Regions from separate parts of the Homo sapiens genome. Here region 1 is linked to region 2. Evidence: promoter capture Hi-C in human tissues and cell types (Jung and others, 2019). All regions are on one chromosome and are shown on one strand. Each heading gives the region's core, a stretch centred on a gene start or on the middle of the fragment in contact. The rest is flanking DNA. Distances are from core to core; before and after follow the strand shown.

Region 1 (6,654 bases), core at 1,591-4,090, 150 kb before region 2:
TTGGCCCAACTGAACTTTGAATTTTGAAGGTGCTTGCCTTTCCACCCCCTCATAGGATAAGCGTGTGCCACTTTATGGCAATCTAAGATGAAGAGTCTAATTTTATAAATCAAATACACTAAGGACTAATAATTTTCATTATAAAAATGTTTTTCATCTCTATTGAGTCCTTGCTTAGTATTCTTCTTATCAAAATGTGTGGTTCCAATTGTATAAATATATGATAGATTTATCTGTGAAGTATTTATCATTCATGACCTGTCATTCATAAAGCCATCAAAGAAGATTGAAAAGGAGGAAATGTCTGTTGGTTTATATAATTTTTTTTGAATCTGTACTGCTAAGCAATTGAAACACAATTTTACACATTTTCTGTGGTTATAGAAATATCTACTACTATAAAATTTTAAATATAAAACATTTATGCATAAAATTTTGATTATGGATACTACCATCATTTTGTATACATTTTTGTTTGCATGTATATTTTAATCATTACTATTGAATAAGTCCTATTAAATTAAGAACTAGCTGTATTAAGTTCTATCTTGAAAAAAAAGTATGTATATATGTATATATGTAGATATATATGTAAAATCAGTTTTTATTTGCAAACTTAGTTCCCTTCCCCATACCAATGAAATATTTATGTAAATACTTTCTAAAATCCTTTTAGCTTTAGTATTTTCTGATTTTATTACAATTTTCGAGATACATTTGTGGATAAAGAATCAACTCTGACCACTTTAATATGGAGCAATGAGATTTTCAAAGATTCTTCTTGCTATTCAAATAATCTTATTTACTCTTTCCACATTCTTAAGTTCATTTTTTATCCATTTATCTAAACATTGCATGCTTTCATCATTGAACCTCCTATTTCATTTCTTGAAAATGTCAGGAAATACTGATAAATGCAAAGCTCCCGCTTTGTGCCTGGATTTCATTTGATATCACCTTGAATTTTTGAAATGTAACCTTCAAAAAAGAATATAATTTCACTTTATTTCTTAGAAGCATTATTATAAAATAATATTTATGAATGGCTTATGAGAGGAATCAATGCATTTACATAGTGGATAAATATGTCACAAGACATAGGCAGATTCATTTACTCTTTTTATGAAGGAATAAGTATTGAATTAGGGGCTCTAAAAATAAGACCTGAGAGAGGATACAGTATTTAAATTCATGTTTCTTATAAAAGTAATTTCATTATTACTGACAGAAAATGAGTTTCCTGAGATTCATAGTTACCATGTTTCTTCCTAATTATTTTTGTGATGTGATATAGGTTAACATGAAAACTGCTAAGTATAAATTTAAAATTACAAGACTATTTGGTAATTATAGTGTAAAATTCCCATAACACTACTGAATTCTATATACTTAAGCATAGTAAAATAATATAGTATCTACTTGCTAGTTATTCCTGTCTCTGCAGACTTCTAGGTTGTGACCACTTTGACTTGCATTTTTTTTCATGTAGCGGGCTCCTTTAAAAAAAAAGAAAATTTAAAAAATTTCAATTAACTGCAATTATAAATTGACAAATGCATCTAAATGAACATAATAAGCAAGAATGGAATGTGAAGAGCTTAATCAGATGCTTCCCTAATTGTCAGGTTACATATCCTATAAGAATAATTCCACAAACACTGCCACTAAACATTAGAGCTGTGGGTATATAAATCCAGGGTGGAATAAAAGGATGATACTGTTGTCCAACATTCTTCCTTAATGCAACATTTTGGTACCTATAAGCAAAAATGCTTTGTACAGTGCTTTTCCTTCTTGCCTATTTTATTTCTAATAACTAAATAATAAATGTAAAATGTATTTTTCCTTATCTTGAATTTATAAAAAAATTTAAAAAATATTTTATAATTTAGATTCATACAGGTTAGAGTTGCCTTCTCCTCTAATTATTCTGAATCGATAAAATTTTATATCTTGCTATTATACCTTAAACACTGATTTGGTTATTCCCAGTGATCATTAAAACAAAACTAAATGCTTTGACATTGGTTAGTTATTATATGTGCATATAGTCATAGCTTAATGTATTCAGTACATTATAACTAAAATAATTGAGCCCAAAATCCCCAAATGCATTTGTAATTAAGTGTATTTTAGAAAAGTGACTTGCATGAGACTGATGGAGATAAACATATTAACTTGGTGTTGCAATTTGTATTCTATACATTTATTATCCCATGGTTGATATGGGAAATAAAAAAGAAAATGTACTTTAAATTTATTAATTTGAATACTCAATATAGAGCCTTTATATCTATATCTGTAAAACCCAAGACTCTCTATATAATCATTAAATGTATAAGTCAGGACTATAGAGAATTTCCATTTATCAGTGGGACAGAGAAGTACCTAGTTCATGTCCAGAGTCAGGCAGGGCCTGGTATGTCTTAAAAGTCTTAAAGGGAGGATTGATTATCATTATTACTTAGTGCAATGGTTCTATTAAAAATTTAAAAAAGGAAATCAAAAGGCCGCAAACTTCAAGATCTACTTAAACAAGCCAATTTTACACAGTATGACTTAGATACTAAAATCTTTTCTTGAATTTGGAACTCTAAAGGATATTTTGGAAAATAAAAGCTAGGGTGACAATATATAAATAGCACATAAAATGCTGAAGATTATGTTTAATTGATACAATTCTTTATTTGCACAAAATGCATAGTCTTAGAATCAATAAAGCTTAGCAAATGATGTGTTTAGGCAGACATAATTTCCTGATAATAAATGCATTATTAAAGTGAGATAGAAATTACGGTTTTAACGTGATAAAAATGCTCCTCCTGGTCTTGCCACTGTTCACAGAATTAAAAAAAACATCAGATTCCTAATCTTGCTATTCAAGTTAAAAAGTGATTCTCTGCCCCTGACTTTACCCACAACAGTTTTTCAATACATACTTTATGAACCAGGAAGACTGAAACACCTGGTGGAATCTTCCCCATCCTGGCCCCCACTACATCTTTGTTCATGTTGTTCCTCCCGCTAGGACTGCCCTTCTACTGATTTCTGCCTGTGGTTTCATCACTCTCATCAAAGTCCAGATAATGAGCTTCCTCTTCCAGGAAGCCTTTCCTGATTCCTTTCAATTGTATGTAATATTTCACTGTCCTCTAAATTGCCATTTCTCATTTCCTCTCATAACACTTTTCAATAGATTCTAATTATTTATGTTTCATCACATCAAATGACTAAACTGTAACTTTTTCATAAGCTGCTTTCCTCCATGATTTATCTTTGCATTTCAACAAATTTCAGGGATGGTATATTGTAGAGTATAAGCACTTCATACTTTTAAAAATTTGATAAATATTGCTTATGTATTAAACTGGACAAATTTTTGTTGGTAAGAAATTTCCTCCTAGAGGGAGACTAGATATTGTTGGAAAAATTCCTCAGTATGTCTTCTTGGTGTAGAAGAAGTAACTCAGGGGAGTTGAGTGTGTCTGGGAGTGGCAGAAGGAGAATCTCATTCCGGGAAGAGGGAAGGCCTGGAGAGCAAGGTGAATTGGTGTAAGGCTGTGGCCAGTCCATATAACATACCTCTCTGCATATGACTCTTTTTGCAAATTGTACAAAATATTTGTTATGAGGGTGCTGGATGAGTTTAGCTTTGGGATTAATAAGAGACAGAATAAGAAGAGAGAGAAGAAGAGAGTCCCAGGAATTAGCAAGATTACTGGGTAAATTTTCTAAGCAAAGCTCTTAGGTGTCTGATACACAAGCATTCAGCCATTGTGATTAACATTTTGTGACTGGAAATTCTTATTTGGGGCAAAAGTCTGTATTAATGTTAAACAATTATCTCTATTCCCCAGAATTCAAACCCTTTGATCAGTTTCATACGAGATGCCATGCAGATTCCAACTCTGTGTAATTCAAGTAACTAAGGTTTAGCTGAAATGATCATAAACGTAGCTGGACATTAAGGAAACAGTCATTCAACAGTCTGATTAAATACCATTTGATGTAGCATAGGCCTACAACTTAGAAAACAGGAATCAGATAATTTAATTTCTTTTTCTGTAAAATGGCAGTAATCATCAAACTTAACATCTCATAGTTAAAAAAAAAAGTAAAATAAGCTCTTTCTGTTTGTTTTTGAGACAGGGTCTCGCTTTGTCATCCAGGCTGGGGTGCAGTGGCACAATCACGGCTCACTGGTGGCCTTGACCTCCCAGGCTCAAGTGATCCTCCAACCTCGGCCTCCAGAGTAGATGACGTTACAGGTGAAGGTCACCACACCTGTCTAAATATATATATATACATTTTTTTTTGAGAGACCAAGTCTCACTATGCTTCCTGGGCTGATCTGGAACTCCTAGGCTCAAGTGAGCCTCCTGCTTTGGCCCCCCAAAGTGCTGGGATTACAGGTATGAACCACCGTGCCTGGCCTTAAAATAAGTTCTTCTTAAGAGCAAACACTCTCCTTAGAAGAAGGGTATTTGTTATTATTATTTTTTATTACAATAGGTAAAATTATATGCCTAAAATATATTATTACAGTATCCATGAAAGTGATATCTTAAAAATAAACTATTACATTCTTGTTGTCTGTAATCTTGTCATTTTGTTGAAAACAAAACGTGCCCCTCCACGTTCAGGGAGATTCGCCATTCAATACACTGGAGGGAATATGTGGCTAAATTTAGAACAACAGATCTTTGTGTTACATAGGCAGCAGTTATTATTTAAAGTATGCATAGACTTGCTTTTTTCCCTTGCAGATAGCTGAAACTGGGCCTTTCCATGGCTAATGCAATATGGACATCATCACCCCACTCCTTCATACAAGAGAAATAAAGCCAGCAAAGCACACATACTTTTAAACACAGTATTTTATTATTCTTTTATAAGAGACCAAATGCACTTAGTCACTAGTGATACTACATTTTTAATGCTGAAAGAAAAAATAAAAATAACTTTTTGTTATAATAGAGACCAGAATACTAGCCCTAATGGTTCTTTTTTTGTTGTTGGTTTGTTTGTTTTGTGAGATGGAGTCTCGCTCTGTCGCCCAGGCTGGAGTGCAATGGCGCAATCTTGGCTCACTGCAACCGCTGCCTCCTGGGTTCAAGCAATTCTCCCTGCCTCTGCCTCCTGAATAGCTTGGATTACAGGCGCCCACCACCAAGCCTGGCTAATTTTTCTATTTTTAGTAGAGATAGGGTTTCGCCATGTTGGCCAGGCTGGTCTCAAACTCCTGACCTCAGGTGATCTGCCTGACTCGGCCTCCCAGAGTGCTGGGATTACAGGCGTAGCCACTGCACCTGGCCCTTTTTTTCCTAAATAAAATACTTTAGAAAATTAAATTTTAAAGCACTTGCGCGTGTGCACGTGTGTGTGTGTGTGTGTGTGTGTGTTCTTTTTCTCAGTGCTACCACTGTCCTCATTGGTTGGGGGTACACTTGGCTAAGTGACTGAGCCTCCAGGTTAAAGTCTATTTTAAACGACTTTATGAGATAACTTATATATGAAAGTATTGTTTGAAAGCCTTTTGAAAGGCTCCTTGCTTTGGGCCATAACTCTTTTTAGTGGCATTTCTGGTTTCTAGATTTTTAGTCAAAATTTTTGAAATACAATCTCCTCATGCAGTGCTTTGATTATATGTAAATGATGACACAAGATCCCCACTCATTGTGCATATTAGGTACATGCTAATTCTCACCAGCATATACTTCCTGAACTTTCTACATCTTTCTGTGGCCCAAGCTGCATTTGACTCCAGTTTGACCTGCCTCCGACATGCTACTCAAAAGTGGAAAGTACGGTTAAAAGTCCTTAGGGTATAAGCTCCTACTTAAAACATGGTTTCCCAGGGGCAAAGACCTTGTTCAGTTATGCTTATAATCAGTGTTTATGACTCTAGACACTGTAATATTTATCAAGTGTTGCTACAGCACTTGAGCCATGACGACACGGTAAATAGGCCAGATTTGAATGCCAAGCACTACAACTACCCAGCTTCACATTTCAATTATATTTAAATGAAATTGCCTAATGCAAGTGTTTAAAAGTTCATTAAAATTAACCTTTTGAATCCAGAGGGTGCAGTGGGCACTTGTGATAATACCACAGTTCTAGATTTAGGTTTTCAATTACTGAGTAAATGAAAAATTCAGGGGATTTGAAATGTCAAGGATGCTTTGAAACAGATATTGAATTGGCTAAGAACTTTAACTCAGTCTCATGGTCAATGTTCTCTAGTGTTTTGTGACATGATCACTAACAGTCATTGATTATTTAGTGCCAACAATGTGCTAGGAGCTGTTGAAGTACAGGCACTGCATATCAAAGAAATGTGATAAGCATTACTCCAAGCAAGAATTGTGATAGAGAGCATATTTAGATTGAATTACAGGTTTGACAGAAATTTTAAACAGCCACACTCAGTTTATCATTTTAGGAAAAATTACACCACAGCCATCCTCAGCAAGGGAGAATTTACTATATTTTGAAGGTCACCAATATCTTCAGAGATTCATTAGGATTTGTTGTTACATCTTACAGCTGCTCAGCCTGTAAGAATCAGAGTTGGAGGGCTTTCCAGAAAGCATGAGGCCATACACTCAACACTGGACTTGTGAGATCTGGGTGGAGCAAAGAACGTTTTTG
Region 2 (6,354 bases), core at 2,591-5,090:
CTCGTGGAATGTGTGATTCCTTCTTATATTGGGGCCACAGTCATTCAGCAAATAAAATTTTAGTATCTCTAAGTGTAATTTTGATACATCAATTAAAACCTAACATCAATATTTTATCTGTTCTAAAAAGTGAATGTTTTAAAGTTGTGATTAACAAGACCAAGTTTTTGTATCAAATATTTAATCATGTACTATATGCTGAAATAAGAGAGATCTACAAGTACCACTGGAATGAACATCATATAGATAATATAGTTTATTACTTTCATAAGCAATAACATTCATATTAATTTATATCTTCGTGATTTTTTGAAATCCAAAGAAAACAAAAATGCAGATGCACAAAAACACTTTAAGCTTATGTTCTGTATTTTATAAGGGAATTAGAAAAATTAAAAGCTTAAAAAAGAAAGTGGAATAAGAATTTAATTGGGAAAATGTTAATGACAGCCTAAAGCTGCACTAAAATTCTGAATAAAACATGGCTACTGCAACTGGACCAGGTTTCTTTATGAAGTTGTTTCTAATTCTAAGCTGCATATGTGCAGACACAAGTGATGTAGAATTTATGTGTTGGCCATGGTAAGTACACATTTTTTCTTGGATAGTCAGTTTTTTCTTAAAAATGTATAAAGAACTCTCACCTCATAATAAGTCATGAAAATTGACTGTTTTTCTTATCATTACATATTAGTATGATGCAATGCAGCATAACACATAAATAAACCACCTTTTAAAAACTTTAGCCTACTAAGATGGATTATAAAACATTAAGTGAAAATGAAATAAGAAATCTCCAAGTCAGGTAACTCTAAATGTTGGGTCATAAACAAGTTATATCTCCACTAAATTAATAAATATTCTGACCTCAGGACATTTTCCACAGGCCTGAGACACCTCAGAAGTCCAAACTCAATCACTAAACACACCCCCAATATACTTTAGCCATATGACTCTTAAGGAAACATAAAATCATTCCTACATCCCTATTTGCTCATTTTTCCCCCTGTGCAATCAATGATTTCTAAAAAGTAAAGACTTCATTGCTTTACTGTCTTTTGTAAAAACAAACAAACAAAAAACAACAAACAAACAAAAAACACCTCGTGGTAGTTCCCTTAGAGTCCTTCCTGGAAGCCAATTCAAGGAAGCCTGGACGGAGGCGTGACACTTGGACTGGGAAGGTGGTGTAATCTGTTGCGAATCACAGCAGGTTCTGAAGTGCTGGAGAACCCACGTGTGCAGGGGCTGGAGAACTTTTCCACCGTCTCCCAGAGGAAATGCCTCATTTTAAAATAGGGGGCTGGCTGGAGCAAGGGGTGGGGGTGAAGGGTGGGCGGTAAAAAAAGGCAGAGGCGAAGCTTTCAAACCGTTCACGCATGTCTACCTGTGCTTATTTTCCCTCTATTTCGCCTCCGATCAACTTTATTATTATTATTATTATTATTTTCCTTCTATAGGAGGACTTAAGCAACCAGGATGCTGAACATCTCATAGGCTCAGGCTGGAACAAAGAAAATCGAGTTCCTAATACTGTATCTCACCCGTTGGAGGGATCACGTGTCCTGCTTTCGCTGGAATGCACTCTTCTCGCCCACGCTATAAAAATCTCTATTGTGCTTAGAAATTTCGCCTAGGTTAGAATATGCTCACAAAAAATTGCTTTTCATCCACCAGGAGAGCCACATTTCGACATATACAGATACAAATCTATTTACCTGCTGACCCAGTTACCACTGCAGGTAAATTCGATGTGTTGAAAGAGTATTGGGAAAGTAATTGAAAAGAGCAGGGGGAGGACCCCTGTGTCTTACCGATCCCCACCCCCATCGCTTTTTTTTTTTTTTTTTTTTTTGTAATTCCTTTTGAAGGAGAACTTCGAAAGGAACGTGGGAGTCGCAGATGGTTCCTTTCTGAAGCCGATTCCTGGGAGTTGTGAAAGTGACCCCGTCTCTTCTCTGCCTCGAGCTGTGCCCTCTCGCCCAACCCGCTCGCTTTATGACTTGATGGGGAAGAGACAGCCAGAGAAGAGCCGGAGTAGAGGGCGGAGGCGGGTCCTTTATTCAGCCCTGATGGCCGAGAAGTAGTGTAAGGAAGCAATCTTTCAGCCATCTCCGTTATTATGAAGTCACACTATTTTAAAAGGCAATCTATACAGTCCCCCAACCCCCGCCCCCATTCTTGACTCTGCAAACAGTAAGATTAGAGACCACTGGTAGCCAATCTAATAGTCCACGAGCCAGGGTGCCATGATTACCTTAATGCTAATGTGCTTCCCTCCCTCTTTCCACGTCGAATCCGAAACACGTCCTGCATCCTTAATAACTCGGAGAGGAGGACGCAAGATCCTCAAGGGGACCCAGCGCTGGATTGGGAATAGGCAGGTTCACCAGCTTCTCGTGCCACACAAAGGAGATGTGTGGGCAGGAGTTGTCTAGCTGACAGGGAGGGAGGCAAGGTTCTCCCTGACTCCCAGGGAACACGCTCCCCCACTTCTTTCCGTCCTCCAGTCTTTCATGTTCCTTCGTCCCCTCCATCCCCCCAAACCCCACCCTTTCCCTTCAATCCCAATCACATAAAAATCTTCTAATTGTATTTTTTCAAACAGACATCGAGACATTGATACAACACCTTCCAAGATAAAGAGACAAGTGCGTCCTGCCACAAGTGTGTGTGAGTGTGTGTGTGTGTGTGTCACGATCAAACACGCGCTTCATCCCTCAGACACCTCTGGGAAAAAAGCTGACTGGAGATACCCAAGATAATAACGAGGAGCTAAACCTAATTTCAGCGGAACCAATGGTCCCAGCACCAGCGCCCAACATTTACCTTTCCTTTTCGCAGTATGTAACCCTTTAAGGTCTCTTGCCAGCTCAAGCTACTCGGTGCTCCCATGCACCCGCCCAGTTAGCACCCCATTTCCAAATGCTCTGCAACCTACCACATCTTCGCCGCCTCCCTCGGCCACCGCACAAGCAGCTCCCCGCGAGCGCCGAAGCCTCCCGCCCTGCCACCCCCGCCCCCGGCCGGCCTCTGGGGTCCCACACCTCGCGCGCCTACGGTCGCCGCGGCCGGGCCCCCGCAGCACCCTCCGCCACGGAGCGAGCGTGCCTTACTCACATCGCCGGCGGGAGAAACTGCCCATGAGGTTTCGGAGAGCGTAGTCGTGCAGCTGCCAAGGGTTATTCCTTAAGTGTTCAGGGGTCCGCAGTGGAGTGGGCGCCAGGGTCTTCGGAGGAGAAGAGGAGGGAAGGAGTAGAAGGTAGGAAGAACAGGAGATAGAGGGGAATCCAGGAAGGTGCCACGTTAGACCATGATGCCAGTGCCCTTCAGGTGGACGGCTGGAGAGGTTCCCGCGGGAAGCGGCTGAGGGGAAGCCCGAAGCGCCGGCGGGGGAGGCAGGAGCGCGTCCACTCCCCAGCCTCAGCCTGCCCAGCGCGCCGCGCTAGCGACCGCAGCAGCAGCGGCGGCGGCGGCGGCGGTGGCGGAGGCGCAGCTCCCTCCCCGCCCCCAGAAGGCTCCACAGACAATAAATCCTGGGCGGAGAAGAGACAAGCAGGAAAGGCGAATCCTGCACCCAACTCCGTAACAACCCCTGCCCGTTGCCGCGCCTGTGCAGGGCGAGGATCCCCAGGGGCCAGGGCGCAGCGGGCGTCTCGGAGGGGCTGAGCGCTCCGCAACTGCAGGAGGCGGTGGCGGTGGCCCGAGTGGGCGGCTGCAGGTCCCGCCGGCGAGAACCCGCTGCACTGGGGCTGGGTGTCCGTGGCTTCAAGCCCGGTGTTCACCCGGAGTAGGGTCCTCCTCGGTGCAGTGGCTCGGCGCACAGGTGCCAGGATTGGCAGGCGAGGAGGCGCCGCTCATGGCTCTTGGCTGTGTCTCACCGCTCTCCCCGCCCCCTCTCTTTTTTCCCACCCCCTTTTCCGACGACACCAGCTGCAGCTGCTTCAAAGTGTGAAAAATGTCAAGGAGATTTTCCAATGATAGGAGGGGGTAACCATGTTCACAACCCTCGGTCTCTTTTTGAGATCCTCGCCTGTCCCTCTGACCTCTACTCCGGCTCCCCCAAATTATGAGAAGAAAAATCCCAGTCCTGCACAGGATTGAAACGCTAGCCTTCTCCCGGCTCCGTCACGATAGGCTGCTTTTCGAGAACGGGACGAGAGGCCGAGCTCTCTGGGTTCCTCTCGCCTCCGTGGTGTTCGAGGCAGGTGGCACGAATCTCAGCGCGGGGCGGAGCGCGGCTGCCGGCTCCTCCCGCTCGCGGGCCAGCCCCGGGCGCTCGGGCAGCGCGGCGCGGCTTTCTGCAGCGCGGCCGCCTGAGCGGCAGAAGCGGCTCCCGGCCTGTGCGCCTGCCTGAGCGCCCCTGCACCCGCACTAGCTCAGTGACGCTGAGCTCGTGGCTCCTCAGGCTGCTGCTCCTGCTATCTCAGCAAAGAGGCGGCCGGGAGCGCCTCCTCGGGGTTTCCTCCCCCGCCCGCCTTGCCTGCTGCAGGTTGTTGGCTGCCAAGGAGAAAAGTCTCCGCTTGTGCGTCAGGTCGCTTCACATCAGTCATGGCAGCGAACCTTGTGCCTGCTCTTAAGTCCTCTCCTCATTCTGGGGTTGCGGCTGCTGCCCTGGGAGTGCACAAAAAGGGAAGGGTTTTCCCAACTTCCCTTCATATATTCACCGCCCCTCCTCCTGCCATGAACATTCTCTCTGACACACACACACACACACACACACACACACACACACACACACACTCTCTCTCTCTCTCTCATATGCTCCCTTACGTAAAGGCACACACACTTTCTTCTTATACGCTTCTCTAAAGTCCCAGAAGCAGCAAGACATATCAATGAAGCTAGTACTATATTTACACTTTTTTTTTTTTTTTTTGAAACGGAGTTTCGCTCTTGTTGACCAGGCTGGAGTACAATGGCGCGATCTCGGCTCACTGCAACCTCTTCCTCCCCGGTTCAAGCGATCTTCCTGCCTCAGCCTCCCGAGTAGCTGGGATTACAGGCGCGTGCCACCACGCCCGGATGATTTTTTTTGTATTTTTAGTAGAGACGGGGGTTTCACCATGTTGCCCAGGCTGGTCTCGAATTCCTGACCTCAGGTGATCCACCTGTCTCGGCCTCCCAAAATGCTGGGATTATAGACGTGAGCCACCGTTCCCAGCCTATATTTACACTTTTATTCTCTACACACATCTAATGAATTACATCTTTAAAAAAGGATATATTATGCTGGTATTCTTTTGTGGAATATAGGCTATGTGGTTTTTGTTTCTTCATTACAAGAGAGAAAGAATCTTGTCTTTAGTTCTCTAACCTCGAACACAGTCAAGACTGTGCACAGCATTCAAATGCCACTCTGGGGGTGTGTGTAAGCTCACAGTTTGCCAAAAGAAAACACACCTGATTGTATTCTTAGATTTGGAATGCTAAAGTCTTCAAGGTCAAAAATTATGTTTCCTGGCTGCTAGAAATTGTCTAGGAAGAGACTTGAGAGACTGGCACCTAATGTGCGGAGGACCTAGAGAGGAATTATTGCCCACTTTATCTGGGCCATGAAGGTGGGCTGACTTTTAAGGACAACTTGCCAGTGTTTCATATCATTTGCATATAGAAAGGAAAAGGAGTATATTTTGAAAAGCCAGATCGTTTTTTATATTGTTACAAAACACCAAAAGAAAGGGCTCTGAAAATGGCAAGGAAATGGAATAAAATTGTTAAAAGAATTTTTTTTGAATTGACTACTGTTGTGCTCTGTTTTTTTTTCACCTATAGTGTTGTCCTTTTAAACATTTTGCCACATCTCAATGTCTCTGCTGGATGAAGTGACATGAAATATTTTAGGTGCTGATTAAAAATGTATTGACAAAATAACCTGGCGCAACAATTACACAATTATAGCGGTCCTTTATGGGTTTCCAGTTCTTTTTAATACAGTCAACACAGTACTTTCACATATATTCTTTCATTTAATCCTTTCTTAAATCTAGGTGGTGGATAATCTAATCCACACTTACAGGAAGGGCACAAAGGCTCATCTCATAAGGGTGTCCAGTTGCCCTGCACTTGAGCCCAGAATTTCTTATTTTAACTTCAGGCTTCATTGTTTTGTATCAAAATATTTGACAAAAATTATTCTGTTTAAAAACACAGCCAGTTATGAGTAACTGCAGATCCTTGCATACAGGCAGCATACCTACCAATGAAGTTACCTTCTGTGTGTTAAGTGGAAGTAGTTTCCTACGTGGAAACAAACGTATTCCTTTCCAATGGAGAAAAAGATAATTTTGGAACCCCGAATTAAAAATTGATGGTGCTGATATAACACATTTCAAACTACATGTCCTCCTTTCC

What was found. Contacts are between HindIII fragments. The study calls those that stand out against the background at their distance.
Region 1: a contact is called between a fragment that was not itself captured here and the fragment with the promoter of LRRC7 in region 2, in 1 of the 25 tissues and cell types used here (dorsolateral prefrontal cortex).

Annotation. Positions count from the first base shown.
Region 1 is chr1:69,710,984-69,717,637 of GRCh38, reverse strand. The region is part of intron 2 of LRRC7 (leucine rich repeat containing 7); the gene reads right to left. Among named protein-coding and RNA genes, the nearest start is that of LRRC7, 150 kb to the right of the region's middle. The HindIII fragment of the contact is 4,175 bases long and covers 753-4,927 here.
Region 2 is chr1:69,565,408-69,571,761 of GRCh38, reverse strand. It overlaps LRRC7 (leucine rich repeat containing 7), which reads right to left and starts at 3,840. Exons shown (of 27, transcript NM_001370785.2): 1 at 3,121-3,840. The coding sequence starts at 3,122. LOC105378789 (a long non-coding RNA gene) reads right to left here. Exons shown (of 12, transcript XR_947488.3): 12 at 5,912-6,354. RefSeq lists a silencer at 4,187-4,416. The HindIII fragment of the contact is 6,759 bases long and covers 881-6,354 here.